Regions from separate parts of the Homo sapiens genome. Here all the other regions are linked to region 6. Evidence: promoter capture Hi-C in 16 types of primary human blood cells and fetal thymus (Javierre and others, 2016). All regions are on one chromosome and are shown on one strand. Each heading gives the region's core, a stretch centred on a gene start or on the middle of the fragment in contact. The rest is flanking DNA. Distances are from core to core; before and after follow the strand shown. Region 1 overlaps COPS2 (COP9 signalosome subunit 2). Region 2 overlaps SHC4 (SHC adaptor protein 4). Region 3 holds the start of EID1 (EP300 interacting inhibitor of differentiation 1). Region 4 overlaps CEP152 (centrosomal protein 152). Region 5 overlaps GALK2 (galactokinase 2). Region 6 holds the start of USP8 (ubiquitin specific peptidase 8).

Region 1 (4,214 bases), core at 239-2,738, 1.3 Mb before region 6:
CCTTGGACCAGAGTAGCAGAGGTAGAAATGGTAAGCACAGTCATACTGGATGTAAAGCCATGTGGATTTGCCAATGGATTATTTGTGGGGTAATAGACAATGAGAAGAGTTAAGCATAATGCTAACGTTTTGGCCCTAGTCAATGGAAGAGAAACTCTTTATAATAAACAGGAGAATTTTAAAACTCCAAAGTAAACACTAATCCTTTGTGGAAAAGTCAATCTATTAATAATGCAGCCCTGGCAGGGTGCGGTGGCTCACGCCTGTAATCCTAGCACTTTGGGAGGCCAAGGCAGGCAGATCACGAGGTCAGGAGATCGAGACCATCCTGGCTAACATGGTGAAAGCCCGTCTCTTCTAAAAACACAAAAAATTAGCTGGGCATGGTGGCATGTGCCTGTAGTTCCAGCTACTCAGGAGGCTGAGGCAGGAGAATCACTTGAACCCAGGAGGCAGAGGTTGCAGTGAACCAAGATTGCACCATTGCACTCCAGCCTGGGTGACAGAGCGGGGGAAAAAAAAAAAAGGCAAATACTGTAAATGCATCTAAAAGAGTAAGTTTTCTTAAATAGAAAACTTCTGTATCCTATGAAGAATTTGTTTTTTTTACTTAGTATTACTATAGTCCCAACTGCAGAGCAGACTAAATATAAAAACACATCCAAAGAAGTACTTTAGAAAAGAAGATATAATAGTACTTTGTCGTGATGAGGTTTTTACCTACAAAATTTATTAGTTTAATTCCCCTCAAAACAAATCTTACCAACTTGAAGTTAATCTTAATCATTTGTTTCAGTGCTTTAAATCCCCATTCTCCTTTTTCACCTTCAAGTTCCAAAACCTAAAAAGAGGAAGAAATTTTTAGTTTATCTTAATATTAACACATTATTTTCTAATGATGCCCAATGTGTAAGTATTGAATTAATTTTATACTATATGCATAAAAAACATTTCCCCAAGGATACCACCATTTCTCAATGTCATTTTTCAGTCTTTAAAAAAAACAAGTTGTAAGATGCCTACATAAGGATAAGCAAGCTTAAAGTTCCTTCATCAGCAAAATAAAGAGCCACTTCTTGATTATTATATAGTTTCTGAAATATTTTTTCCCCTGAATAACCAACCTATGGTAAAAATAATCCGTAAGTGTATCAGTAAGTCAAGAAATCAAGCTATTCATAATAATGAAACCACAACTGTATGATTTACCCCTAAAAGAAACAAGATTGCAGTGATAATACCTACTGACCATCATGTTGGTGGTTCTTCTGCCAGAACCATCCTAGTTTTTCAGGACAATGGCCCTGCTCCATAGACAGCTTGATTGGAAAAAACATCAGGATAACCGTTTTGAAACACTTGCTTGTGCTGCCTAATGCTAACTGATAGGATAATTAAGTATTCAAAACACATTTCTGAGATAAAATCACCTGGGACTTATTTGTTCTAGCATATCATTAAAAAAATTAACACATAGAATCAAATGGAAAAGAATATAAACCTTTTGGAAACTGCTTAATGCCGCTTTTGGGTCATCTTCTTTTAATGCTTTGGAATTATAGTACTGATTTTCCAAATCCACATTTGGCTCGGAGTTACTATCTTCAGAGTATTCCTGTGTTGGAAAGAAAGAAATATTAAAAGAAAAAAAGAAAAGAAACCCACACGTAGCAACGTAAAAAGTGAATGCTGTTAAGACAGAAAAACCACATATTTTTACAAAACAAAACAACCTTGAATACATACGTAAAATGCCACTGATATTCAACTGTTATATAAAACCAGGGGTTGAAGAGAGGAGGAAGGAGGAGTCAAAATCAAGTGTATAGCAGAATATAATCATTACTTTCTTTCAGATGAAAGCTAAAATTTCTATAGAATCAACATAAAAGAAGAATGCAACCTAATATTGGTTAATGACCCCAATTCTGTAGTTGCTAAGCTTTCGTTAGTCATGAAATCTGAGGGAAACCTAACGTAGATGTGTTCTAATTATTAATCTTTGGTTCTGTAATCTAATTTTTCTATTCCCCAAGTCTAAATTTCATTATTGTAACACGGTTTAAAACCAGCTAGGATGGTAATCTACACATGGCAAAGTCATCTAGCACTAAATATAATTATGTTAATAAGAATACTTTCCTTATGTGCACTATACAACAGCTGTTTATACTAATGTTAACTTAATCAGCTTTATAACAAATCAAAATAAATAAAACAAAATGGATTTATATAATTTTATGAGACTTTCTATTACATGAGTTCAATTCTTAGTGGAAAAAAAACAAGGCAGAAGGGAAAACTGGAATAAAACAACTATTTTGTGGAGCAGTATAAACAAGAGTGTTACACAGTTCCAGGACATTCAACCTAATAATGAGGATTACAAAATACACATGGATTGGTATAATGGAAATTATTATCTTATGAGTCATAAGATATAGATTATTTCCTTCTCAGCTTTAAGTCATTACAAAGGGCAAGTTTATATCAAATTAAGAATAGTACCTGGAAACAAACACAAAAAGACAAGAATAGTTTTATAGTTATTTCTAAATCCAAATACAGGTAACAAATTTCTTTATGAGATATTTATGAAAAATTCTGTTACAGTCTCATAAAAGCATAGGAGTGAAGAAAGGTATGCTGTGTATAATAAGTTACTTGAAAGCTCAAAAATACATTAACACAAGATGAATTTTTCAATAATCAAGAGTGGCTTTGTAATGTGCGCCCTCTGGAGGATAATTCCTTCCTCGTGTGAAGACCTGAGTCTGTCAGTCTTACAGATTTAAGACCTGGAATTCCATTCTGTTTAACATATGAAAATCACTTGGAACACTTCTTTTAGGGACAAGATGAAACTAGGTAGTAAATAAGTTTCATAATTATTCATTTACTTCTTAACCCTTGTAATCTAGGCTTGACTACAAAGAAACTGATCAAGCTAAAAAAAAAGAGAAATTAGTAAAGAATGAATAAGCCAACCATACACAGAATGATGCTGTGACAGTGATGGCTTCAAACCTGGGTTTTGAAAGATAAATGGAAGTTTGCCCACTAGACAAAACAGGAGAGGATAAAGAGAATAGTACACGTAGTAACAGCATAAACAATGAAAGGTAACTATTTGTTGGAACATAAAAATCCTTATTGACTCTACCTTCAAAATAAATCTCAAATCTATCCACTCCCGAACCCCCTGCCTGCTACCACCCTACCCTACCCAACTACTTTCATCTCTCCACAAACTTTAGCAGCCTTCTCATTCTCCTTTTTAAGTTCTAATATCCTCATGGTTAAGCAGGTGAAATAATTTTCACAAAATGTAAATTATCTTATTCCTCTCCTCAAAAATGGTTCCTATTCCTCTTAAAATCGAGAGCAAAATCAGCAAAACTTGACTCCTGTGTCCAACCTTATCTCCTATCTAGTTCTCCCTCATTCACTTTGCTGCAGCCATCCTGGCCTTAACTCAACAAGTGCCAAATTCTCCCACTTTTATGTGCTATTTCTCTCTCTTTCCACCTCTACCTCTACCTCTCTTCATCTAGTTAACTACTGCTTATCATTTCAGATCTCAGCCTAAGGGTATTCTTTAGGGAAGACTTGGAGTAAAGAATCACAGCTATAAAACCTACTCTATGCCTTCGGAAATCAGCTCTTTTCTAATTGTTTTATTAAGTTGGAACAAATATAAACAGATTTACCATATATGATTTATCATACAATAACTAAAATAAAAACTTCACTTAACAGTGTTGAATAAGATAGAGGAATAGCTTGCTGAACCAGAAAATTACTTTTTTTTGCAACCCAAACCTTCAGAATGCAGCCTTGAACCTGGAAGTAAAATGAAAAGTATTTCTGATTTACATTGATCACAAAGTAAAAATTCAGAGTCCATTTATTTTTGGTTTCTTGGCTCAAAACAAATTAGAAAAAACAATTAGGTCAGGTTTCGAGAAGAGGAAAGTAGAAGCTGAAAGGTATACATGACAACAGTAGGACTAGTATTTTGGAGCTTCCCAGCAAATGAGAAACAGTATTTTAGAAAGGGAAGAGATTAACTTCAATTATCTGGAAATTACTGAACCAATTATAACATTGTTAAAAACAGGATCCTTGACATTTCCTGTCATATGTCACACAGTGTCTTGTCATTCAGTCACGGAATACTTATAATAAGAGTAGTTACCTGTAACTTCTGGGAC
Region 2 (4,292 bases), core at 1,583-4,082, 1.6 Mb before region 6:
AATCACCTCAAGGAATCTCAGATATTCTCATTCCAAAACTAATTTGACTTTTACTTAAAAATTTTGTCTGAACACATTTGAAAGGGGTGTGTGTGTGTGTGTGTGTGTGTGTGTGTGTGTGTGATGGTGGTGTGGTGGTATTACTAAATCAAACAATGCTAAGGTATCAAATCTTCATTCTTATAAAGTTGCCCCTTTAAAGTACAAATTGGATCCTGAAATAGACTTAGGAGCTAATTCCGGTTTTGAAACCCAGTTAAGAATATCTATAAATTTATGTCTTTCCTACCAAAGGAAAATATTTGGTCTATCTTTACACTGCCATTTTATATTGTTCCTATATTTTTCTCCACAGTAGCTTTACTTAGTGACCAACAGATAGAAAATGCTCTAAACATATTTGTTGAATGAATAAATAGTGATTTCTCTGAATCATATGAATAGTGCTACTGTATGAAATTGTCTTTGAGTTTTTTGAAGTGAGAATTGCAGTGAGTCCCTGCAATGGGACATGTTCTTATAGCTACTAGGTGATATAAATTATTTCTTAGGTGATTTGTGGAAATAGTCTCCTCCTTGCTAGTCAGGCCTCATATCCGGAGACCTAAAAAGTACCCTTGGAGATGTATCCTCCAGTTGAGCCATGAGAAGCTGTGTTACATTATAAGAAAAGGTAATTCACTAGTCCCAGATACTTGGGAGGCTTAAAGGAGGGAGGAGAGAGGTTCACTTGAGCCCAGGGGTTGCAGGCTCTAGTGTACTGTGATCACACCTGTGAATAGCCACTGCACCCCAGCCTAGGCAACATAGCAAGACCCTGTCTCTAAAAAAGAAAGAAAGGAAGAAAGAGAGAGAGAGCTTACATAATATCAAGTATGGCTTAAATGATAAAATATCTCCTAACACTAATATGCTAGCAACCTAACCAAATAAATACTTTTTTTTTAAAGAAAAGGTAATCCTTTTGTTTTTAATCTCGTAAATTCCCAGTCCAATTAAAAATGAAGTCAAGGCCAGGTGCAGTGGCTCACGCCTGTAATCCCAGTACTTTGGGAGGCTGAGGCAGGTGGATCACTTGAGGTCAGGAGTTCATGGCCAACATGGTGAAACCCCGTATCTATTAAAAATACAAAAAAATTGGCTGGGCATGGTGGCAGGTGCCTGTAATCCCAGTTACTTGGGAGGCTGAGACAGGAAAATCACTTGAACCTGGGAGGCAGAGGTTGCAGTGGGCCAAGATGGCGTCATTGCACTCCAGTCTGGGCGACGAGTGAAACTCCATCTCAAAAATAAAAATAATAATAATAAATAAAAATAAAAATGAAGTCAAAATAGAAAGTCATATCAAAATGGAAACAACAATTTTTGCAATTTTATTTTTTCTTAGGATTGAGGAGATGTTGAGAGATGAAGATGAGGAAGATAATGAGAGAAGCAGGATACTTAAGCCTAAATAAATAAATAAGAAAAGCTAAATTGTACTTCCAGTGAGGGCGATGAGAGAATAGGATGTTTAAAAGAACTCCGTGAAAAGATTCAGATCTGAGTTCAAGTTCCAATTATGCCACTACTTATGTGACCTTGAACAAGTCACTTTATGGCAAGGTCCTTGTCTGCCAAGACAATGTCCTGAGTCATCTTTGAAGTCTTTTTGTTTTACAGAAACCCTATTCTTCCTCTGTCATGGAAGCTCAAAGTCTCTGAGGAACAGGGCGGCATGTGGGTACACAGAAATGAATGAATCAATCAGACACATCAACCAGCCTCTAACGCTTCTGGCGTACCTCTAGAATGTCTTATTTATCTCAACTTTTCTGATTCTGATGCTTTGAGGTTTGGGTCCTGTTCATAGGCTGATGCTATCAACATAATTTTCTGCTTTTCTTTGGATTAGCCTATTACTACCATATTACTTTATTTATTATAGAGACAGGTGTCTCACTACGTTGCTCAGACTGGACTTGAACTCCTGGGCTCAAGTGATCCTCCTGCTTCAGCCTCCCAAGTAGCTGGGACTACAGGCATGCCCCAACACACCCAGCTTGAGAAGACTGGACAAAAATAAAAGAACAAACAGTGGTGTCTGTCTGTCTCCAGGCAAGATGCAACAGCAGACAAACAGACTGACCTCATGCAGATGTTCTGCCCAGTCTCACCACCTTCAGGGAGCACATGTACTTTCACAGTTCCATTGTTGCCTCTCATAGACATGCTATGTTGCTCTATGGAAATGGTCTTTTTTAGGTTGGTCATGGGACAGGATAGAGGTGGGCCTTGAATCACATATAAATATGCCCATTTCCCAGGATTAAAACCAATTCCAAAAGCTTGGCCAAGAATTGCCCAATTTTCAGCTAAAGGGAAAGAAGAAAGACAAGTAACTATATATAAAAAGAGCCAAGTCACAAAAAAGAGGGTGCCTTTTCAGGGATATGGTAACTTTGTTACCAAGGCCTGAGCTTTGCTTCCCATGTCTGGAATCAGATGAAAGTCTGGATTTTTTTCATCCCACCTGTAGCAGGATGGGCTCACACTTCCAGCCCTGGGTATCAAGTACTAAACTAAGATTCAAAAGAACCTGAGATACATATTCATCTGTCTTTTTTATTTGGTTATTGAATTAGGTAGTCATAAACAAGAGGATTACAACTATTACTAAAGGATAACAGACACTTCTTTACTACTTTTATATTTGTTCTTAATAAACAGTTTTTTTGTTTTGTTTCTGTCTTTTCCTTTTATACTTAGAAAACCAGAAATTCAAAAGTTCAGCTTTTCAGGTCAACCACCAGATGGTGCTATGGGATCAAAGCAGGGAGTCCTCCATACTTTAGGAAGAAACAACCTCAAAGAGGCAAGCCAGTATTCAGTTCATAGCTAATTAATACCACCAGGACAGTCGTAGGCATACTTTATAACTATAAACATAAATAAAAATAAGTGGATTAATTTAAGTTGGTTTTACTGGTTTTGGGGTTTTTTTTTTTTTAACTTTCTTCAGAGACCCAGAAGCATGGCCTTCCTATATCCAGGTAGTCCAAGCAGTCCAGTCCTATTCACAGACTAGATTCAGGGAAAATATTAAAACATTCCTGGACTGCCACACATTTGGAGTAAGACAATGTGGATTTCCTCATTTACAGCAATTACAGAAGCAGGGTGTATTAATCACTAACTAAACTCAAAACATTCTTACTGGAACTTAACCTTTTCTATAAAAAAGGCCTTTGATAAAATGAAGAGTTCACTAAAGGGTCCTAGCCAAGATGGAAAAAGTGGGAACTGCCCTGATTTAAATGCACTAATGCTAAAAGCGAATCAAGCAAAAGGAAGAGTGGGAAGCTTCGGGATTGTCAGCATGAAGCCCAGTCTCCTCTGCTCATCTCCACTTCCTGTCAACCATACTGTCCTCCTCATCCCTGCAATCTGGCTCCTGCCTTTCTAGGTGTACAAAAATTGAGCTTTCCAGAGTGACCAGTGGCCTGTTAATTGCTGGGCGAAATAGCATCTTCCCACCCTCATGCCCCTTAACTCCTTTTCAGTGTGTGACCATCTGAGATGTCTCCTTCAGAAGAACCTTGCTCTTCCCCTCTGTTAGGTAATACTCATTTCTTGACTTCCTCCTGTCCCCTGACTACTCCTTAGGCAAGTCACTGTCTCCTGTGGCTTCCCCCACTCCCTGACATCCTTAGCCCTCTTCTTTCTAGGTTCTGCTAAGAAGTTGCAGTTTTTTTCTGCACCTGCAGGCCTGGCCTGCCTCCCTCCCCTCCCTGCCAGCCCCACCCCCAGCCCCAGACCTACTCTCTGGGCTTCTCTTGTCTGCCATTTTCTCCTGGATGAAACAAACTTGCTAGTTAATTTTATAACATCAGCTTTCTGATTTCATTATTTTAAAACATTTATTCAAAGGTTTTGGATATTTTTTCTTTTTATAAATGTAATAAATATTCACTGTAAGAGTTTTAGAAAACAAAAAGGCACCAAGAAGAAATAAAAATTACAGAAAATTTCACTATCCAGTGGTTATCTCAATAACCACTAGGAACATTTTGCCATATGTCTTTCCTATCTTCTTATAATGCGTATCTACCCAGAAAAGTCACCTGGGATTATACTATACACAATCTTCATAATGTTTTTTGCATTAACAGCATTGTGAATATTTTTCCCATATAATTACTTATTTTTCTACTATTAGCTTTAATTGCTGCATCATAGTACATTCTATGAGTTTATTTAATTTGCTACTTATGAATACTAAATTTTGTCTTATGATATAAATAATATACAAA
Region 3 (4,066 bases), core at 851-3,350, 1.5 Mb before region 6:
TAGGCTGTCTGCAGGCTAAGGAGAGAGGAGAGCCAGTCCGAGTTCTGAAACTGAAGAACTTGGGAATCCAATGTTCGAGGGCAGGAAGCATCCAACACAGGAGAAAGATTTAGGCTGGGAGGCTAGGCCAGTCTCTCTTTTCACATTTTTCTGCCTGCTTATATTCTAGCCAAGCTGGCAGCTGATTAGATTGTGCCCAACCAGATTAAGGGTGGGTCTGCCTTTCGCAGCCCACTGACTCAAATGTTAATCTCCTTTGGCAACACCCTCACAGACACACCAATGATCAATACTTGTATCCTTCAATCCAATCAAGTTGACACTCAGTATTAACCATCACACTTCTCATCCACAAAAGACGGAATGGATCTGTGACCCATTTGTGAATAAGCCAGGTGAATCCACTTTGTCCACGCTAGAAGAGGATCAACTGCTTGATATTGCAAATGACGGTGGCCTTAAAAGTATGTTTGAGACAACTTCAAATCTCCATACGTTCTCGATTAAAGTCAAGGCGGAACATCCTGAGATTGCCACAAAAGTACTGAAAAGCCTCCTTCCATTTTCAACATCCTATCTTTGTGAGGCAGGATTTTCCACAGTAACAGCAACCAAAATGAGATTACAGAATAGACCGGACATAAGGAACACACCTCGGGTGTCACTGTGTCTCATCACCCCCAGATGGGACCATCTAGTTGCAGGAAAACAAGCTCAGGGCTCCCATTGATTCTACATTATGGTGAGTTGTATAATTCTACATAACTATAATGTAATAATAATAGAAATAAAGTGCAGAATAAATGAAATGTGCTTGAATCCTGTAAGTATACACAGTCATATAATTCATATAAGTATATACAACTTAAAACCTGAGGCTTTTAAGTTGAAGGTAAAAACAGGTAAAACATGTTTTTAAAAAACACACAAAATAGTATTTTGCTGTCAATACATAAAGATACATGTAAATGCAAATAAAAAGAATTCAAAGAATACACACCGCATTGCTAATAGTGGAAAGATACCTCCCAGGCGAAAAGAAATGGGACCAAGTATTTCTTCACTATAACTAAAAAAAAAAAAAGTACAATATATCTGTTGTTTGTGAATTTAACTTTTTAAATGAAAACACTAAAAGGACAAAATGGATTAGTTCTTAATATGCTGATCTGTGGTTATGGATGTTGTCTGGTTTGGAGACGTGGATTTACAAGTCATCAGTACATCGGTAAATTGCCCAGGGGAAGAGGAAGGGGGGGAAGGAGCATTAAATGTTACGAAGGCCATGTAAGGTTATTTTCCGGTTTGCAGCATTACAAGCAGCAGTAGGGTTAAGTAACACAGAAACTGTTACGCTCTTGCATGCAGGGTCCCTAGATACGAAGTTCGAATCGATGGAAACGTAGCTCAAAAGGCGACGCCAACACCCCGGAGAAAACACTGAGCTACTCCAACCACAGTGGCGCGCCAAGTAGGAGGCGGTACCTGAGGACCACGCCTGCGCGCGGGGTTACGCAAGCGCGCAGCCTTTGCGCACGCGCACGAACGCACGGCCGCGCAGCATCTGTCTTGCTGGAAGCTTTTTCCTAGAGGTTGAGCGGTTTGCACAATGTCGGAAATGGCTGAGTTGTCCGAGCTGTATGAAGAGAGCAGTGACCTGCAGATGGATGTGATGCCTGGCGAGGGTGACCTTCCGCAGATGGAGGTAGGCAGCGGGAGCCGGGAGCTATCCCTGCGTCCCTCCCGCAGCGGGGCCCAACAGCTCGAGGAGGAAGGCCCAATGGAGGAGGAGGAGGCCCAGCCAATGGCGGCGCCAGAGGGGAAACGGAGCCTTGCTAACGGGCCCAACGCTGGGGAGCAGCCAGGCCAGGTGGCGGGCGCAGACTTCGAGAGCGAGGACGAGGGCGAGGAATTTGATGACTGGGAGGACGACTACGACTATCCCGAAGAGGAGCAGCTCAGTGGTGCCGGCTACAGAGTATCAGCCGCTCTTGAAGAAGCCGACAAGATGTTTCTGAGAACAAGAGAACCAGCCCTGGATGGCGGGTTTCAGATGCATTATGAGAAGACCCCGTTTGATCAGTTAGCTTTTATCGAAGAGCTTTTTTCACTGATGGTTGTCAATCGTCTGACCGAAGAACTCGGCTGTGATGAGATTATTGATAGAGAGTAGTTAGATGCTGTTAAAAGAGGAGGAAACTACTTGAGGAGGGACCCAACTTTCCGCTATCTTTTGGGTTCATTCCAAATAGTTTTGTGCCATTGAAAAACTTGACCTTCAAAAAAATTTGTTTTTCAGAATAGAACACAATAGGACAGTGACTGCACAGTTGTGAAAAAGGAAGAGAATCATTAAAGAAAAAGAAAAAAGATTTTAAGACCGTTGAAATCAATTATCAAGAACGTCCTAAAACACCTATGGCTTTGACTTTGTTATTGATCCAGATTATTTTCCTTGCATTGGGGAAAATATCTTTCATATTTGTTTGCTGTAAAGATGGTTTTGCAAGAATAAGTCATGACCAAGACAAACTGCCAATACAAAAGCCCACTGATACTAATTATATAATGAGAAAAAAATGTATCCAACTAGGACACATATCTTTTGAGTTATTTGGACTGAAAGCTTAAGAAAACTTGGAAAATTCTATTTTGTGATCTAGTCAAGCCACAGTTATCAAAGGCTACATTTTCAGTGTAAGATAAATGGATGAGTAAACTCAAATATGTATCACGTGTGCTTTGTATCTTAAGATGTGTTTCCAAGAGCATCTGAAATTTTGTTTGTACATGTATCTTGATCATTTATAAAGCCACTGTGATCTATAAATCAAGAAAATCCATTGTCATAACCATTTTTAAAAGTCAAAAATTAAGACATCCTTAATTAAAAAGTTTCAAATCTAGACACTAAATGTGTGTGAATGTACAAAGAAAACAAACCATTGCTTATGCTGTTATATACTAGAGAAATTTTGTTTTGCTTGCTGTTTTAACTTGACAGATGAAGGACTTTAGTTGAACTTCATATTGTAAGAACTGTTAATAAAAGTTGTCAAGTAAAAAGCGCTATATCTAAAAAGACTTTATGAACAGTTATTCTATCAACTTTTAAAGGTTTTAAACCTGCCCAGAAATTACCTTGGTATCTGAAGTTTCCCTCTGTCTCCTCCTCTAATTAAGCTTGTTATTTGTCATGCACCAGCATTGGAGATAATAAAATTTCTTGTTCTGTGTATTTTGTTTGGCTAATAGTATTGCATACATACTTTCTCTGTATACTACTTTCTATTGTATGTGTTAACCAGTATTAAGGGAAAATGATCCAGCTTCAGCTATCTAATTCACAAATTAATTTCTGGAAATTAAACTTTGTAAATTAAGTTTTTGCCTATAAGAATTTGCTGGTCTGGGAAAACCTGCCCTATCAATGAGTATGTTGCCGTGGTTACCTTACTAAGATGCTGAAGTTCTAGGAGAGTAATGATTACATCAGAAGGCTAGGTTCAGCAAAATAAGTGTATCAGCAGGTTTTATCATGATCAGTAAAAATGTTCCAAATGCTTCTGCTCCATTATAGCAGTAAAGAACGAATATCCAATGCAACAGGACAATTCAGAGCCTTATTTATTTTATGGTCATCCTGTCTTTTGGGGAGAGAGATCTGTAAAAGATAGGACTGTGACAAGGCTGATCAGAATTGCTCAGACACTAGCTGGGTTAGGAGGGAGAGATGGTGGAAGTAAAATGTTGGTGCTTAGACTTAATCCTACTGCCTCTTCCACTGCTTTCTCAATTAGCGTGCAGCTACGGTCAGATGAGTGTGGATAGGTAATTAATTGCATGGATGATGTAAATTAGTGTGGGTGGGGGTATGCTAGTGCACAATAAACTGGCTGGTTGTATTTACCTCCAGATCTTTATCTTTACCAGGAAAGTTTATCTTTACTAGGAAAGATAAACTCTTGGAAAAAAAAATCTGAGGTCCACAAACTAGAAGGTTGTGATTCTGTTTTTCTCTGGGACTGAGTAGGGCAAAGAGGTGGGGGTGGGAAACACTATTCCA
Region 4 (4,141 bases), core at 1,517-4,016, 1.6 Mb before region 6:
GCTTGAACCCGGGAGGCAGCGTCAGCCAAGATCCCGTGATTGCACTCCAGCATGGGCAACAGAGCGAGACTCCATCTCAAAAAAAAAAAAAAAGAACTATATCTCTGTAATATCCAACTGTGCAATCACAAGTATAGAGACTTAGGTGAAAAGCATTTTTGCAAAGTCATATTGTTACATTATGAGTGAGTTAATACAAGAGCTTCTGAATTATTTTCTGGGACAGCTTTATAAAGAAAAGTTTGCTTTGGATGATATCTCCTTCTTAGCAAGAAGGACAAGTATTACCAGCAGCTCTCAAGTGGTACAATCAGAAAATAATGCCCTCCAGTTAGTTAGGAGAAACATAAGTAATGTGTGACAATTAATTGATATTAACTGACGATACATATCTCTATGATGTCATCACTCTCACTGATCTACACCCTAATCTGCTCTGTCGACTATTTTTAAGAGATGAGAGTTTCAGTTGAAACACTGTGAGAAGCTGTGGTTTATGTACCTCTCTACTATGCCTTTATGCCTTGACTCACAGTGGGCCAACTTTTACTAATGTACCATTAAGAGTTGTAGCACTTTAGAAATACATTATAGGACGTTTCTAAAAAATTCTTGCTTTTTTTTTTCCCAAAATATGGGTATATTTGTGATGGTCTCTGGCTTGAGATCCACTGGTCTAAATATCCTCTAAATATTGAATAAAGTATTTACTAAATCCTTTCCTTTTTCTGAATGTTAAAGGCACTTTCTCCCTTTGACCTTCAATACAAACAATGGAGAGAATAGAAATGGAAAAAGCAAAATCATAATTGTAAAGCTGCTCATTAGGATGGCATGAAGGTTGGAATGGTGTATTCATTGGGATATGGGCCCATGTGGACAAAATCCCAACTGGCACCAAAACAACAAAATTAAACACAGCTTGGAAAAACATGCTGTATTAGCAACTAGCCTTTCATCCCAGGCAGTGAAAATCAGGACTATCCAACCATGTACCAAGACAGGCTCTCACAAACCCTTAGCAGGGTAGACTATGAGTCAGATGTGGTATGCCTGGTAAGCCTTATAGCACATCATCAGGGATAAAGGCATTCCTCCCACATCAGCAACTTGAACACAAAGTGATTCACTAAGTAGAGAAAGCAATATGCATTAGCCCACTGCTAACAGTTATAACCTAGCCACAATCCCAAAGCCACAGTCCCAAAGCTACCAACCAGGTAGACAGGATAAAACAGCTTTTTTTCTTTAATCTCTTAAGGCTGTGAACCATTTGGCTATTGCTGGGTCAGGAAGACTGAGACAGTTAAAAAAAACCTTCTAGATATGCATTCAAGCTTGGGTTTGACCACCCAATTTATTACTTTAACTTGTAGTGACAAAGTATACATACAGCTGAAGATTTGTGAACAGTTCCGAAGTTTGTTACTAAAATTTGAACCTCTCTAGCCTCTCATCTCACTTTTTCCCTTGCAGCAATTATTTTTTAAAGTAAAAATATTTTTATTAACATGAAGTTTTTTACAAATTTAACCATAATCATCATGTTAGAGTCAATTCAGCTATATATCCTTCCACTCTGCTAGAAATACTCATTCTTAGATACTTGATCTTTCAAGAACAACTTTTCCCCTGAAATTCCCTATCCCAGCATACAATCTATCAAAGAGGTGATCCCAAATAGCTGTTTTCTATATTATCTAGAATTAATTGCCTCCTTAACTAGTATCCCCTCTAAAATTTTAACCACACAATACACTGGCAGACCTATCTCTCTAATATATTTCTCAATGAAAAATCACCTGTCAAAATATTTTTTCTTCTTTACAGTAGTGATTATTTAAACTGACCTTCTCAAGAATCCCAGTGGCTAAACCCCAGCCAACTATCCAAGCCCAGTCATGAATACCTCATGCTGCAGGTTCAAAGTAACAGAAAATCCTCATTCCCATCCTTGCCACAATTGTTGTGAGGGGCCCTGCCAAAATCCGGAAACCCTCACCAGGGTCATAAACTCAAATGCCCTCAGGGCCCTGGCAGAGAATTTACCAGAGTGAAGCAGGCAGGTCTGAGTGCATAAGCCCATGTCTGTGTGAGAAGTGGGGACTGTGGCCAGCTGGGGAAGGAGAGCCACTGCTCAGTTCCAGCCCGCCTGCTGCCATGTGCAAATACAGGCCAGGTGTGGCCAGGGCTTTGGATGTTTTTTAGATAAGCCAGAGACTCTGCAGTGCTGCATAAAATTTTCCCATCTTCAAATACAGATTCAATTTTTTAAAAGCACTCTGCAACCAACAATACCTGTCTGAACCAAATCCAGCAAGTTGCCAGTTTTCTATCACTGCCTTAATTCTACCACCAGCCACATGAGCAATGGTCAACTGACCCTATTCCTTGCTTCCTGTTAATACTCATGGTCCACAATAACTATTAAAAAAGACTTTTTTACATGTTAGAAAATGGGTCATATAAAAAATAGCGTCAGGACAAAAGAAGCCTTTTATCACAGACAATCAAGAAATTTGACTTACACTAAAAACAACCAAAACAACTAAATTGACTTCCACCAATAACACTATTACTGCTGCTATTACTATTGCCACCATTTACTGAACATTTGCTATGTGCCAAGAATTCTGCTAAACACTTTACATATAAATAATATGGTCTCTCCCTTTTATTCCTTTCCTTCTATAATCTATTCACCATGCAGCCTTCTGAAAGATCTTCAAAAATATGATATCAATTTTCCCTGCTTAAAATCCTCCACTGGCTTCCCATTGTTCTTAGAATAAAATACAAACACCTTATCATGGCTTTCCATGATCTGACACCCACATCCACCACCCAACACTGGCTCATATATACCCAATACCATGGCCTTCTGGCCGCTCCACATGATCTGTGGCATACACGGGGTCTCTTCCCAACTTCCCAGCTTACACTCATTGGTGTTTTGGCGTAGACTGCTCTTCCTCAGGCTTCTGCATGGCTGGTTCCTTCTCATGAGTCAAGTCTCAGCTCATATATTGCCTCCTCCCACAGACCCTCCCTCACCACCCCATCTACAGCAATCCCCTATCAATTGCTTTCATAGCACTCCAATTTGTTTCCCTGTCATTTATCAATGATAAATTATCACTCACTCAAATTACTTTACTCACTTGTTTACTTGTTTATTGTCTGCCTCCACTAGGATGTAAACTACCCAAAGCAAAGAGCCTTGTCAGACTTGTTCATGGCAATGTTTCAAGCACCTAGAAACTAACCTTCCACTTCCAAAGCCAACCATTACCTCCTAAATGAAAAGAAAAATTTAACCATTTATCTGATGGTATTATTCACAGTTGTGTTTTATTCCTGTCTCAAAAACAGAAGCATTCCACTTATTCACCTTTTCAGTCTAAATAGCAAGCAGATTTTAGGGTTGTTTTTTTTTTAAAAAATCCAAATCCCTTCAAAATGACACAAGATGATACAATTTTGATCAAGAAATAAAACTTGTTAAAGATTGGGTTTAGTGTCTCTTTTTTTTTTTTTTTTTAACAACTTACCTCTTTCTCTCTTTCATAGTCCTCTTCGTCATACTCTTCATCTTCATTTTGCACTGGTAGTGCCACACTGCCAAAGTCTAATGACATGGTCCTCCTGTGGGAAGGGAAAGATGTTTGGTTTCTGGACACCACATAAAATCTCCCCAGGACAAACTACATAAGAGATGCCATACATACACAAAGTGAAAAGACAGAAACAGACTGGGAGAAAATATGTATAACTCAGTTATGGCCAATAAAAATAATGGTGATTCACCGAAAATAGCTATATGACAGCAATTCATGGAAAAGAAAACATGCAAATAGGTAATAAAGCTATGAATAGACCTTTCTAGTGGTCTGAAGAGTATAAAACAGTAAGATTTTTGCCGACATGAAAAATAAGATGACAATAATAATAAACTAGAAATGTGCCAAATGTAAAAATCTTAAGCTCAAACAAAACTTCAAATGTGATATATTAAACATGGCACAGGCAGTACCCTATTGCTTCATTTTTTTTTAATATCAGAAATCCAAATATCATGCTTTACAAGAAGAAGGCCCCTAAATCATGAGTGAATGACTACTACCCAGAAACCATTTACAAT
Region 5 (4,232 bases), core at 207-2,706, 1.2 Mb before region 6:
GTAATTTAACCTCTTAAGTCTCAGATTTATCCATAAAATGATGTCATTGCTATCCTGACAAAGAGTTGTTAAAAGAATTACATAAAGCTTGATGGTAGCCATTTAATAAATGGTAGCTAGTATTGTTATTGCTACTTCAGATGGGATTAAAAAAAGATATAATGAAATGTATTAGTATAAGTATTTTCCAAGAAACATTGAATAATTACTTTGAAAATCTCTAATGTTACATACAAGAACAAGAAAATAAAATGTTTTCACTCTCATAATTGAAAAAGTATCAAGGACCAAAAGAAAATTGATATTTGCTGTTTTTAGAGCCACTTTTATATTGCAATAATTATTTTAGATGTAGTGACTTGCATAGAATCATAGTAGGACAATAAGAAGTAAATTTTGCCTTTGTGAGCTAAAAGTAAACAAACAAACTGACCCATGTTTTAGAGAGCTTGTGTTCCTTACTGCCTGGCAGTCCTATCTGAAACTTTGTAATGAGCAGCTAGGACTTAGTGGCACATCCATTACAGAAATACATCAAATTTATTTCTAATGTGTAGTCCTATACTGTAACAGTGGTGGTTTTTGTTCTTAAAGTTAATGAATTCATTTCTTTCTTTCTTTTGTGTTTTCCTTTCTCTCAGACACATGGTAATAACTTACAGGAAAAGTTATTGGCAGGTTTTAAATCTTCAAATCATCTGGCTTATCATATGCATTAGTGGGAATTACAGTATTTGGAAGCATTTGCCTGGCAAATGCAATTTTAATCTTCCTTGTAACAACATGCCTTTTTGCAGCATATGGGTAAAGTGGCCTAAATAATGCATGTTGCTTTGTGTTATTTTTGAGCATTTCAGGTTTTAAAGCCTTCCTGTTTGGTTTGACAATTTATGTGCAAAAGCAAACTTATACAATGAACTTTTGGCAGAAAGGTAATTTAAATGCTAGCCTGTTCAGAAACTTTCAAATTCAAATACTAGAAAGTTTCAGAGAATAATTCACTTATATTACATTGAACATGTTATCCTTTTGGCATAGAGCTATTACAGAATGTGGCATATACCCATTTGCATTTTGAATTTGTTATACATTTTCATTTAAACATTGCATAATACGTTGTTTTTTGTTTTTGTTTTTTTGTTTTTGTTTTTGTTTTTGTTTTTTGAGACGGAGTCTTGCTCTGTCGCCCAGGCTGGAGTGTAGTGGCGTGATCTCGGCTCACTGCAACCTCTGCCCCCGGGGTTCAAGCGATTCTCCTGCCTCACCCTCCTTAGTAGCTGGGATTACAGGTGCCTGCCACCGCGCCTGGCTAATTTTTGTATTTTTAGTAGAGACGGGGTTTCACTATATTGGCCAGGCTGGTCTTGAACTCCTGACTTCGTGACCCACCCGCCTCGGCCTCCCAAAGTGCTGGGATTGCAGGTGTGAGCCACTGCGCCCGGCTGATAAGTTCTTAAGTGTGATTCCCACTCAAGACACCTGTGTTTGATCAGTTTATATTAAATATATTGTATTCTTCAATTTTTTTTTTTAAACAAGCTGTCTGATATTCTGTATGAAAGGGCATTGGCAACAGTAGAGTTTCAGTTTATAGTTTGTTTGTATATCTGGAAGGAAATTTTTAGATGACTTGAAATCAGGAAGAGAAGTACACCCAGCTAAATTTCTTCTTATTGTGGTGCGAGAATTTTGCTAGCTAGGACAGACAGACAAAAAATTAAGGAAAAAGGTCTTTTATTTGCAGAATTTTGTTGTTATTTTAGTTATTCTAGCTAGCTGATTGAAATTCTCCCTTGTATAATAGGTATGATGAAATGCATAATTAGGTAATAGTATTTCATATGTTAATCTTCAGTCATTTGAGTAATTTGCAAAGACTATGGTACTTTTTCTTGAGAAGGAGGTAGACTTGAATTTATTTGTAAACTTAAACCACAAAGGTTATGATATGATATCATCCAAAGTGTCCTAGTGTTAGAAAGTAATGTAAGTATACTAGAGCTTTCCATATTTAAATCAGAATCTGATTATTTCTTTGGGCTTTCCTATTTGTAGAAATAGAGTTTCCTCAACTTGTTTAGGGTCTGTATTCTCATTTGTGGCTGAATTCTAATTTGACTATCTTTAAAGCTACCATATGGCTAAACTGTATCTATAAACTGTAGTAAGCATCTGGATTTTCTCATGTAGCTGGCATATTAAATCACAATGACGGTTTGCTGGCTCAGGTTTCTAACTGCAGTGGAAAAGTTTTCAAACAGGATTCAGAGACCTGGGCCCTACTCTCGTCTCCCTATGTGTCATCTTGGGAAAGTTTCTTCATCTCTTGGTGCCTAGGTTTTTTCATAAGTAAAACAGAACTGAGAATGTTTGGAACTCCTTTTTTTCAGAGAACCTTCTAAAGTAAGGCACTCCTTAGAAACAAGTCACTGCTTGGGGGCTGGACTTTTATAATAACAGAATGCTGGAGTTGTGCTGCATGGAGATTTAAATTACCTCACAGATAATTGTATATTTCTTGTCCTGCTACTTGACAAATTGGATTATAATTGTTTTATATTTTTTCCATATTTGTTCAAATCAATTAATACTCAAGAAAAAGAACATTCAAGGCAATTTTATATTTTTTCCATATTCAAATCAATTAATATTCAAGAAAAAGAACATTCAAGGCAAGAAAATTAAAGGCATTTAAGGGAATTACTCTGTGGCTAAGAGTCATTAAATAAAATGTCACATATAGTCTCAACTAAATTGAATTGCATAAGTAGTTTCTATAACTATTATAAGTCTATTGATAGACTTTTGTTCTCTGGGGAATGAAAGAAGCTTTCACTACTCCTTGAATTCAATACTGAATTACTGTTGCTGTTTTTCCTTATATTCTTAGGAACACTTTGGTCTTAGTAACCTGACTGGAATGAACTGCCTGGTAGATGGAAATATCCCACCAAGTTCTGGCCTCTCCAGCTCCAGTGCTTTGGTCTGTTGTGCTGGCTTGGTGACGCTCACAGTGCTGGGAAGGAATCTATCCAAGGTAACTACCTTTGATAGGAAACCTCATAGAACCCTCTCCTAATAATCATTAGCATCCAAATCTCAAATCAGAATGCCTTCCTTGATTGAAAAACTGTCTTCTCTAAAAGGACTGCACATGTGGGCAAGCATTGTAACTTAACAAGTGATAAATCACTATAAAGTAGCTTATACCCTCCAAACAGTGAGTGAATAGATCTGTGAATAACTGTATAAAAATACATTGTATTAAATATGGGATTTGAATGTATGGATATCATTTTAGATCACCTCATTCACAAGTTAAATTTAGGGCAAGAAATTCTTCCTCTCATGGTTGAGCCTGCTTATTTTCACCCAAAACCTTAAATTAAAAATTTGACAAGTAGTGGGTTACAAGGGTAAAGACTAGGTAATAAAGGAACTGAATATGCCAGCAGATTAGTCACAGAAATAAACTTTAAAATATTGCATTACAAGACGAAATGCTTATTTAAAGGAAATATAAATTGTACAAGAGGTCAGAAAGCCTCAAGTTTATAAGTTCACATAAATCTCTGACTCTGCAGTTTAGAGCAGGTGTGCTCAGCTTTAATTAATGCTTTAGCATTCTGGTTCAAATAAAATGTTATCATAGGTTCTTTTTACCCCATGTACATATACTACCAGGTTTACGGATGGTTTGGACAGATCAAGAGAAAGGCAGCCACATGCTTAGTCTCTTTTAAGCATGTTTAAACTTTCAGTTTGAAAATTTTATGTATAGGAGGAAGGCAGAAATGAAGGAGAAAGCAAAGGTTCAGACAGAATCCTTCTTTTTAGCTGTCCTGTGTAAGTGTACATTAATTAGCCCTTAGTGAGCAATGACTGGTTGGGAGGGAAAGGGGGCTTACATATTATTATTATTTTTTGAGAAGAGAAGAAGCAAGGGACAGGAAGTCCATGTGTAAAATGTGTTTCCCCTGGTACAATTTTCAATCTGATTTGTTTATTTATTCATTTGTTTGTTCATCATTCAACCATTATTTATTTAATGGCTATTTTGTGCCAGATAATGTTCAAGGCATTGGAGATATAATAAGTATAGTCTCAACTTTCACTATGCTTATAGTCTAAAAGGGAAAAGAGACAAGTAAATAGGCAACTGCAATAGAATATAGTAAGTGGATAAGTAGTTTTCTATGGGAGCAGATATAACCCAGATTTAGAGAGCATAG
Region 6 (4,040 bases), core at 346-2,845:
CGCTCTGTTGCCCAGGCTGGAGTGCAGTGGCACGATCTCGGCTCACTGCAACCTCCACCTTCCAGGTTCAAGCGATTCACTGACTCAGCCTCCTCAGTAGCTGGGATTACAGGCACGCGCCACCATGCCCAGCTAATGTTTGTATTTTTAGTAGAGACCAGGTTTTGCCATTTTGGCCAGGCTGGTCTCAAACTCCTGACCTCAAGTGATCTGCCCACCTTGGCCTCCCAAAGTGCTGGGATTACAGGCGTGAGCTACCGCTCCCGGTCTAATTTTTAAATTTTTGTTTTGTAGAGATGAGGGTCTCCCTTTGTTGCTCAAGCTGGTCTCTGTCTCTTGGGATCAAGGGATCCTCCTGCCTCAGCCTCCCAAAGTGCTGGGATTACAGGCCTGGGCCACTGCAACCTGGCCTTCATCACAAATTCATTGAACACACTTTCTTTATTTTATCCTTTTTTATTTTTAAAAATTTTTATTTCAGTAGTTTTGGAGGAACAGGTTGCATGGAAAAGTTCTTTAGTGGTCATTTCTGAGATTTTGGTGCACCCATCACCCGAGCAGTGTACACTGTACCATGTGGCACACACTTTCACTTAAAGCATTTACTAGACCTCGCTAGCCAGATTTCCCATCCCTGAGACACCTGGAATGTTCCTGAGGACTTAGTGACTACTGCCTAAAGCTCCACCCAAGTCAATTTTATGTTTACAGGCAACCGGAGCATCCAATCACCTTTCTCTAAGAGAGTACAAAGATCAGCTCGCGAGAAAGTTCAGACGTCTCATTTCGTTTCTATTACACGGGGCCTTCGCCCAACCAGACGGAGTCTTGCTCTGCTGCCCAGGCTGGAGTGCAGTAGCGCGATCTCGGCTCATTGCAACCTTCGCTCCCCGGGTTTAAGCAATTCTCCTGCCTCAGCCACTGGAGTAGCTAGGATTACAGGCGCACGCCACCACGCCAAGCTAATTTTTTGTATTCTTAATAGAGACGGGGGTTTCACCATGTTGGCCAGGCTGGTCTCGAACTCCTGACCTCATCATTTGCCCGCCTCGGCCTCCCAAAGCGCTGGGATTACAGGCGTGAGCCACCGTGCCCAGCCTCGCCGGGGCCTTTTAAGTGACGTTAAAAATTGTACATAAAATATGTTTTAGGATAATACTTGTTTTTCTTTGACCAAAGGCTTGGCTTCAGAGAATGTTTAGCCAGAAATAGAGGGGCGTTAAATCCCCTTTTTTCTAATTTCCAATCTGAGGAGGAAAATAACGTAGTAAAGGGACGCAAGAGCAACCTTGCTTCTTCCACAACAAGGCCCAGGCGCCGCCTTGCAACCCGGAAATGCAGGGTGCAGTGCGGGGGGTAAGGGACCGGCCAACTATGTTGACCCGACTCAGAGAAACCCCGCCCTTGCCGCCACCGCCCACCCATAACGTCCTCCTCGACCCTCCCTCGACCATCCCTCGCCCCGCGGCCCTCACCGAAAAGGGGAGGGCGGTGGAAGAGAGAGGAGTCAAGGGAGCGCACGCGAAGCCCCGCCCCTGCCGTGACGTCTGGAGACGCGACGCGTCGCCTCGCAATGCAAATCGGGAAAAGGGGGTGAGCTGGGCTGGCTTCCGTCCTGGTAGCCAAGGCTAATTCTCCCTCGAGTTCTTGGGAGATGGGCATTTGGCGAGAAGGCTGGCGTTAGTGAAGCGCGCCCGGCGTCACGGTGAGTGCGGGTCTTGGGCCCTAGCACCTGTTCTCTGGGAAGTCGTCCGCTGTGAACGATGAACGCCTTTCCTTCCACCAGCTGCTGGTTACCCCGGAGACAAGCTCTGTCCGCGGAGAGGAGTGGGACAACTCCTAAAGGTAGAATCAGCTTGTGGAGAGGAAAGGCCCAACCTTGAGTCTTTTACGCCATCTACCTAGGATTGCCAAGCGAGTTTCGTGTGTTTTTTTGGTTTTAAAAGGTGGCTTTGACCAATCTTCCGTTCTCTTGGACACTTATACCCGACTTTGACCTCTTTCCTCTTGCTTCCGGTTTTTTTTTTTTTCTGCAATCTGCCTACAATCCCAGGCCTTACTGTAGCTCCTAAAACTGTTTCCCAGTTTCTCTTCTTCCCCAGTCACACTTGATTTTAGTGAAGTTTGAGTTTAAAGACCCTATAAGCTTGTCAGAGTTAAAACTATGACTTCCTCAAATAGAAGATTTTTTTTTTTTCCCCTAAAAAGTGCCTTCCATCCTAGAGTTGTGGGACAAGTTAATTTCACCGCCACTCCACCTTGGAAATTATCAGAATCCTTACTAGCAGTGATGTGCATTATAAAGCTGCAGACCACCCTCCTGGGTTTATTTCTTGCCTCCAGTTCATTCTGTGACCTTGAACAAGTCACTTAATCACTAACAAAAAATTTACCTGACACGGAGGTGTTGCAGAGCCTAAGGAATTTAGTATTTGTTAAGAGACCTGAGGGTTTCAGATGAAAGGGATTTATATCTAAAGGATGTTACCTTTTCTGAATCTGCAAAGCATCGTTAGTTTTGTAAATATCTTGCTGCAGCCATTAAAAATGCCAAGTGGTATTTGTTAAGGAAGTATTCCTGTTTTAGGCTTGCTCTGCTGCGGCTTTGCTATGTAAGCAGATTTTTGCATTTCAGCCGATTCTGTTTAAGATTCGTTGGTGAATGTCATTCATGATGGATTTGGGTAGTTTCTCCTTACAGCATATCCCTGGACTATTAAGCATATCTGGAAGGTGATATCGGTTGTGTTATGTCTTTATCATGTTGATATGGCTGCTTTGAAATATGTATTCCTTTTCTTGTGACACATTGGATGCATCTTTAATATTAGTGAAGACCCTGTAGTAGTTTAAAAAAAAAATACACCTCTCATTAATGAAATTTTGCACATAGACATCTGTTTTTTTAAGAAAACAATGTATAAGAAAAACTAACAAAAATGTTTTAAAGGTGCCTTTTTTAGCATTTCGTTTTTTAATATATTTACTTGGACTTTAATCTTTATGGGCATTTGTTTATTAATGTGGACGTGGCTGGGCGCAGTGGCTCACATCTGTAATCCTAGCACTTTGGGAGGCGGAGGTGGGCGGATCACTGAGGTCAGGAGTTCGAGATCAGCCTGGCCAACATGGCGAAACCCGGTCTCTACTAAAAATACAAAATTAGCTGGGCGTGGTGGTGCACGCCTGTAGTCCCAGCTACTCTGGAGGCTGAGGCAGGAGAATCGCTTGAACCTGGAAAGCGAAGGTTGCAGTGAGCCGAGATTGCGTCATTGCACTCCAGCCTGGGTGACAAGAGCAAAACTCCGTCTCAAAAAATAAAAAATAAAAAGCGTGGACATAATGGAAAATAATCAAAATGACTTTTGGGTAAGACAGTTGGAAAATAAAGCCAGTACATTAAATTTTTTTCATAAGTCTAGCACTATATTACGAACTTTTCTCCATGAAAATGCACTCATATTTATGGAAGTGAAAGGAAAAAAATGTCTTCAGGTATGTGTTGCTAATAAAATTAGATATAATTAAGGAAACATTTAAAAAATACCTTGTTGTTGTCCCAGTTACCTATTGCTGCATAACAAATCACTCCAAAACATAGTGACTTAAAACTGTAATTTAGTATCTCTCCTGTTTCTCTGGCCTGCCTGGACTTAGCTAAGTGGTTTTCACCTAGAGTTTAATGCGTTTGTATTCAGATAAGCAGCTGAGTTTGGAGTCAACCGAGAGCTCAGCTGGTCTGGACATCCAAAATGGCTAATTCACGTGAAGGCGTTTGATGTTGGCTAGGAGTTCAGCTGGAAATGTCAACTGGAATGCCCACACATAGCCTCTTCACGTGACTTGAACAGTATGGCGGCTAGGTTCCGAGAATACATGTTTGAGGAGTCAGGAAGTAGAAGCTGCCAGTCTCCCAAAAAGCCTGAGCCCAGAAATTCGCACAACATTACTTCCAACATACTCTGTTGGTTAGAGCAAAGACCAGCGTACAACCCTCACCTTTGAAAGGAAAAATGTCAAAGAATTTGTGGCCGTGCTTT

What was found. Contacts are between HindIII fragments. The CHiCAGO score rates a contact against its expected background, and 5 or more counts as called.
Region 1: a contact is called between a fragment that was not itself captured here and the fragment with the promoter of USP8 in region 6, in 2 of 17 cell types (naive CD8 T cells and total CD8 T cells). The highest score is 6.3, in naive CD8 T cells.
Region 2: a fragment that was not itself captured here is called in contact with the fragment with the promoter of USP8 in region 6 in 1 of 17 cell types (fetal thymus); the score reaches 6.4 in fetal thymus.
Region 3: a contact is called between a fragment that was not itself captured here and the fragment with the promoter of USP8 in region 6, in 7 of 17 cell types (fetal thymus, total CD8 T cells, activated CD4 T cells and 4 more). The highest score is 12.1, in fetal thymus.
Region 4: a fragment that was not itself captured here is called in contact with the fragment with the promoter of USP8 in region 6 in 1 of 17 cell types (naive CD8 T cells); the score reaches 5.8 in naive CD8 T cells.
Region 5: a fragment that was not itself captured here is called in contact with the fragment with the promoter of USP8 in region 6 in 2 of 17 cell types (fetal thymus and naive CD8 T cells); the score reaches 6.6 in fetal thymus.

The regions. Positions count from the first base shown.
Region 1 is chr15:49,143,464-49,147,677 of GRCh38, forward strand. It overlaps COPS2 (COP9 signalosome subunit 2), which reads right to left. Exons shown (of 13, transcript NM_004236.4): 2 at 1,502-1,615; 3 at 764-841. Among named protein-coding and RNA genes, the nearest start is that of COPS2, 10 kb to the right of the region's middle. The HindIII fragment of the contact is 904 bases long and covers 1,037-1,940 here.
Region 2 is chr15:48,859,221-48,863,512 of GRCh38, forward strand. The region is part of intron 6 of SHC4 (SHC adaptor protein 4); the gene reads right to left. Among named protein-coding and RNA genes, the nearest start is that of EID1, 17 kb to the right of the region's middle. The HindIII fragment of the contact is 1,015 bases long and covers 2,326-3,340 here.
Region 3 is chr15:48,876,568-48,880,633 of GRCh38, forward strand. All of the region lies in intron 4 of SHC4 (SHC adaptor protein 4), which reads right to left. EID1 (EP300 interacting inhibitor of differentiation 1) reads left to right here and starts at 1,567. Exons shown (of 1, transcript NM_014335.3): 1 at 1,567-3,606. The coding sequence starts at 1,610. The coding sequence ends at 2,173. RefSeq lists enhancers at 1,142-1,251, 1,522-1,821. The HindIII fragment of the contact is 1,047 bases long and covers 1,578-2,624 here.
Region 4 is chr15:48,802,012-48,806,152 of GRCh38, forward strand. It overlaps CEP152 (centrosomal protein 152), which reads right to left. Exons shown (of 27, transcript NM_001194998.2): 2 at 3,552-3,645. The coding sequence starts at 3,638. Among named protein-coding and RNA genes, the nearest start is that of CEP152, 7.0 kb to the right of the region's middle. The HindIII fragment of the contact is 2,862 bases long and covers 1,336-4,141 here.
Region 5 is chr15:49,236,331-49,240,562 of GRCh38, forward strand. It overlaps GALK2 (galactokinase 2), which reads left to right. Exons shown (of 10, transcript NM_002044.4): 5 at 2,891-3,037. Among named protein-coding and RNA genes, the nearest start is that of GALK2, 68 kb to the left of the region's middle. The HindIII fragment of the contact is 2,742 bases long and covers 86-2,827 here.
Region 6 is chr15:50,422,810-50,426,849 of GRCh38, forward strand. It overlaps USP8 (ubiquitin specific peptidase 8), which reads left to right and starts at 1,596. Exons shown (of 20, transcript NM_005154.5): 1 at 1,596-1,705. RefSeq lists enhancers at 419-1,415, 1,454-1,843 and a silencer at 1,294-1,343. The HindIII fragment of the contact is 13,730 bases long and covers 1-2,144 here.